Regions from separate parts of the Homo sapiens genome. Here region 2 is linked to region 1. Evidence: promoter capture Hi-C in 16 types of primary human blood cells and fetal thymus (Javierre and others, 2016). All regions are on one chromosome and are shown on one strand. The core of a region is centred on a gene start or on the middle of the fragment in contact, and the rest is flanking DNA. Distances in the headings are between cores, read along the strand shown.

Region 1 (2,804 bases), core at 226-2,725:
ATCTGAACTCTGGTCTTTATTCCCAGCCAACTGCTCTCTGCATCGCAAGGCAAGCGAGTGGCAAAGCTCCGGCTAGAGCTGGCAACAGAATATAGAATTCTTGGTTCCTCCTGCAGAAGTGACTGAGAAGCATTAGTTTGTTATAAATGGCAGCACTTCTTTCGTTGGGTGTTGAGGGACAAGTCCCTTTCCTGTTATTTAGAATTGAGCTCCCTTTAATAGCAGTGCCTGGTGCTGAAGATTACAATGAGATGGGCTGCTTCTCACCGGGGGAACACACACAGGCATCTCCCCCGCTAGCAAACTGCTTTGATCATGAGAGTCTGCAAGCTCAGAAACGCAGGATGGCTCTCTGCAGAGGGACTTGTGAAAGCCCGTATCTTCTGCCCCACTGTTACCTGATAGAGTTGTCCAGGTTCTTGGCCTGTTGAACAAAAAATTGAACGAAATGCACGGAGTAACGAAAGAAAGAAGCAAGGAAAAACAAAGCAACAGAAGGGAGGAAGGAAAACGTAGATTTATAGAAGACAATTCACAGAGGGCGCTGCAGCAAGCCACAAGAGCCTGACGCTCCCCAGGGATTTTATAAAGCGAAAAGAACTTGGCAACACCCTTGGGTTCCCTTTAGAGGCCTCCAACTGGTTACACCTTACGAAGGACTGGCCTGCGACCAGTCCGAGGCTGAAGTGGAAACTTCTGCCTTGTTATCAGAGGAGCGAGGATGTGGCCTGTGTGCCGCCTAATCATGCCTAGAACTGTCTGCACCTGCTGATCTTTTGCTTCTGCGAACTGGCTGCACCTGCTGTTCTCCTGCTCATACCCTAGCCCGTGCTTACCCTAATTCCCTGTTCTCCTGCCTCACCACCAGAGGCCCGGGTTGTCTGCACAGTCTCATTTTCCACGTTATTCCTGTAATGAACCCGTCCTCCCACCCCCACCAGCAGTTACAGGGCTGGGTGCGGAGACCAACTCTGGCCAGACACAGAGGAGCAGCAAGAACCCGGGGCAACGGTCCTGTGAGTGAGTGCATGTGGGGGAGAGAAATGGAATGAACAGAAATAATTTAGGAAGCACTTTTTACAGAGCACTCAGGTTCTGCCTGAGGAGGTGGGGCGGGCGCTGGTAACATTTGGACAATCGTGGTTAAAAGTGACCCCATCAGCACCCGCTGATCCTTCTTGAACTTGATAACCTTGGTGAAAACGCCAAGCGTTGGAGAAATTCAAGGAATGGCTGTTGTAATGTACATTTCACGCTTAGCCTTTCCTCCCCGCGCTGGGAAGAAGTGCTGCGCACCGCGGCTCCGCCAGGGGGCAGGAGAAGTCACATTACACAGAGAACTAAAAAAAAAAAAAATTCCCCAACTTTTTCCCCCAAACCTTGTTCCTCCTGAAGAAACCGAATCCTCCCGCTTCGGCGTCCCAGGAGCCCGCCCCTCGCCCGCCGCCTCCCCTGCGTCCCCGCCCCGCGCAGCCGCCGCGCTCCTGCGCTCCGAGGTCCGAGGTTCCCGAGATGAAGGTCTGGCTGCTGCTTGGTCTTCTGCTGGTGCACGAAGCGCTGGAGGATGGTGAGTGACTCTGGGCGCGGGGCCACCTAGCTTGTGCCCTGACTTTAGCCGGGACCCGAAGCCCCCGCCGCCCTCCTGCCAGCTCTTGGTCTAACGTTCGGCCCTCGGTGGCTCAGCCCCCGCGCCACTGCCTGCCCGGTGCACCTGCCCCCTCCTGGTGGGGTCTCCTTTCCTCCCACTCTTTGCCTGCCCGGAGAGCCCTCTAGGGGTGGTGGCAGCTACCCCGACCCTTAGGAGCCCACCAGGACCTCTCCAAGTCCCCATCTCCGGGCGAACCAAGCATCCCCAGCCAGCGCCTGGTCCAGCCCCCAGTGTCAACGTGTCGGTCTGGGAGGTGGGGCGGGAGCCTCGGATCGCTTCCACCTCCCAGCGGCGTGGCTGGGACCTCTGCTGCTGAGAGCGAGTGCCACCTAAGCTCGGCAATCGCTGATTCGGTTGCAGAGTTCCAGGTGACCTCCCCCTCCCCTCGCAGTTCTGGGCGTGTTTTCGTCTACCACCTTTTGCTTGAATCCTGCAAGATCTGCCTAGATCTTCGAACAAAAATGTCAGTGTATGAAACTTCAAAACGAATCAAAAGCCCACGGCTTATTATATTTATCTAATTGGATGGGAAATGGTGAAGAAAATGCATTTTTTTGGTACAGCTTATGGGACCATGACCGCTGCGCGTTTTTGAATGTGTACCTGTCCTGGGTCCACCCTGTCGTGTACACCCGTGACCACAGGGTCTGGTGTTATTTTTCTGTGTGTCTGGGTGTGTGTATTACTGTGGTGTGTATTATATATTATTGTTAGCATTTAAATGTTTTGTTTGCTCTATTCACTCCATGGGTGTTATTTGTACAGTACATGTTTCATCTGGGTGCCTCCTGGTGTCCTCAACCCTCTCTTGAAATTCCTGGGCTACAACACAATTTTTGCTTAGATTTAGTGGAAAAGTAGCTTTTGCTGTTATGCAACTTCATGCTGGAGCCAGCTCGACCTGGCTCACATTTTTATCCACTCGTTCATCCTGACCAGTTCCTTTCTTTCCTAGGAAACTACATTTGCCAAAAAAATACCGCATTGTAGTTTGCAAAATCCAAGATAGTCGTGGTACTTGAAGTTGAGCATGAGGGTCCTTCAGCCTAGAGCTTTGCTTAATAAAACGTAGGCAGAGCTTCTACTGGGAGAGTAACACTTAACTCTGCCCAGAGAGAAGTTGCCATGAGTTCAGTTTGTAAAATGCAATATTAAA
Region 2 (2,722 bases), core at 102-2,601, 140 kb after region 1:
GTGAGCAACTGCTGTTGGAAAAATGATGCTGGTAGAGTTGCAAAAAGCACAGTATTTGCAAGGCTCCAGAAAATGAGCGATGCTTGTACCTTCGTTTCTTCTGATTTGCTCTTCTAATCTGCCATGGATTTAGAAGGCACATAACTGTTTTATCACTGTATATAAAATAAGACAATGTAGGCAGTGTACAGGAGACCTTATCTATCTAGAGAGATCAATCCATCTATCTTTTTTTTTTTGAGACAGGGTCTCACTGTGTCACCCAGGCTGGAGTGCAGTGGTGTAATCTACGCTCAATGCCACCTCTGCCTCCCAGGTTCAAGCAATTATCCTGCCTCAGCCTCCTGAGTGGCTGGGACTCCAGGAGCGTACCACCACGTCCGGCAAACTTTTTTGTATTTTTAGTAGAGATGGGGTTTCACCATGTTGGCCAGGCTGGTCTTGAACTCCTGACCTCAAGTGATCCACCCACCTTGGCCTCCCAAAGTGCTGGGATTACAGGTGTGAGCCACTGGGCCCAGCCTATCTGTCGGTCTGTCTGTCTGTCCATCCATCCATCCATCCAAAGTATAGGAATCGCAGTGAAGATATTTTGTGAAATCTTTTATGGGTTCTTGAGAGACATAAAGTTTTGGATTCTCAGCTGTGGTTCAAATAGTGGAGGCTGCAGGCTATCTTGGGAATGTTAAGTCCAGTGAAAGTGTGAAAAAAAAAACATAAAAATATAGGCTGCTGAACTGGGAAAAGGTGCTAAAACCAAATATTGAGACCACTTAAAAATTAAGGAATATCCAATTTCAAAATAGCATTGATCTTGGGGGAAGTACATTTTCCATTTCATTTAGACCACATTAACAAAATCATTTTTTAAAAGACTATAACTATCTATTAGTAATACAATGTCCTTTCATGCATTAGATGGCCAGTCATGCTTACCGTATTTTAATGCTATGCGACCCGTCATAAAAAGTTAGGTTTACACCTCAAATTGGAAATTCTACTTATAAGCACACCAGTAAAAAATCACTGTAAATACTTGTAGTAACATAACTTTACAAAAAGATTCTTTTTATCGCCATCCATAAAGTGGTCACTCACCTGCATTAAGAGCTGTAAATAAATTTTTTCTCGAAGGACCTAAGATATAAAAGAAACATGTAAAATACATATGTTTTATTTGACATATCACATAAAAACAAACCATGTTGATAAGAATTATTTTCAAAAACAATCAATCGCTACATTTCAGGTTCCCGGTGGGAAATATCACCGAGATTCAACCAACTTTTGTCAAGTGCATTTTAAATATAAGGTGATATTTCACATAACATCAAAATGTTTAAGTATGATATGAAGTCACCACAAATTAAATAGGACCAGTTTTAAAAGGAAAAGCCGCAGTATTTTTTCAGTCAAGAACAGCTGAAGTTCAAGTTTTAACAGTACTGAATTCACAGACTGTGCACATATGCCATTCTGCTGCCGGGAGAGCAGAGGCCAGACTTCACGAAGGACAGTCACTCCCGTGTGCTTTCCGAAACTACCCGTTTCTATTCAGCTATGAAGAAAAATAGAAGTTTTTCCTCCAAACTGATAAAATATAAAATCAGGAGGGGTAATAGGTACACAGCTGTAAGTCACTAAAAGAAATCTATGATGCTTCTACTTAACATGAAATAGTTGTTTCTAGGACATAATCATCTGCAGATACCAGTTAGAACAGCTACCATGTTCTATCTGAAATTTTACAGAGATGATGATCTCTTAAAATACGTGGCTGTTATCAATGGAAAGCACTGATTCCCACACAGGTAAAACTGTTGCGACATAACCTATCCATTCAATAGTGAGGCATTTTAGAATTCTGAGTCTCCTGTTCTACAAAGCTGTCCATGGAATCTCATTCTCTGCAAGTTATTTTAGTATCAAAGTTCAACAGCGTTAACTTCATTATTGCTGTGTGGATCATGGGGCTTTATCATCATCAATAAAAAACCACAGTTTTCCAACCTGATGTCAACTCAGCAAGAGGTCATTTGGTGCCTCCGAAATTTGATTAACTCCCTAGGCAAATGACAACCTGCTGCACACTGAAGAATTCAACCCACTCCTAAAATTCATGCCTATTTTCTCTTCAATTCAGTACAAAGAAAAGGTATTGACATACATTAACCAGCCTCAAGGTACCATATTATCCTTTAAACACACACACAGAGAGAGAGAGAGACATGTTAAGGAGGATGCTGTGACAGAGTAACACCTCTGAGAAAGTTACTAATAGATATTAACAATCCAAAGAGTTTCATGCAGGTTAACCCAGTAATTCCTCCTTCTGGGATATCCACAAGTAACCAGAATCTGAAACAATGAATCTTGACTCACATTTGAAGAGGTTCATCTCAGTATTAATAAACCCCAATAAAAGTCAGAAGTTGCCCACTATAAACTGAAGTGGACAACCATAGAATAGCCATTTAAAGTGAAGAAGCTCTCCTGATACACTACTAACTTAATAAAAAGCAAGATACAGAAGAGTATATTCATTATTACCTCAGTTTTGCTGGAATAAAAACAAAACAACATATACATACAGAGGAAAAAAGTCACAAGGAAATGTGACAGCAATTGCTGGTTGACAGAATTAAGGAAGACTCTTTGTTTCTGTGTTTTCCAAATTCTCTAACATAAATGTGGGTCTCATTTTATAGGTCAAGTTTCTCAC

What was found. The method cuts DNA at HindIII sites, captures the fragments that hold promoters and counts their contacts. A CHiCAGO score of 5 or more calls a contact.
Region 2: a contact is called between a fragment that was not itself captured here and the fragment with the promoter of PDGFRL in region 1, in 3 of 17 cell types (naive CD8 T cells, fetal thymus and activated CD4 T cells). The highest score is 5.9, in naive CD8 T cells.

The regions. Positions count from the first base shown.
Region 1 is chr8:17,575,741-17,578,544 of GRCh38, forward strand. PDGFRL (platelet derived growth factor receptor like) reads left to right here and starts at 1,476. Exons shown (of 6, transcript NM_001372073.1): 1 at 1,476-1,567. The coding sequence starts at 1,513. RefSeq lists silencers at 1,682-1,741, 1,832-1,881. The HindIII fragment of the contact is 7,010 bases long and covers 1-2,804 here.
Region 2 is chr8:17,712,116-17,714,837 of GRCh38, forward strand. MTUS1 (microtubule associated scaffold protein 1) reads right to left here. Exons shown (of 15, transcript NM_001363059.2): 6 at 1,099-1,137. Among named protein-coding and RNA genes, the nearest start is that of MIR548V, 32 kb to the left of the region's middle. The HindIII fragment of the contact is 2,798 bases long and covers 1-2,722 here.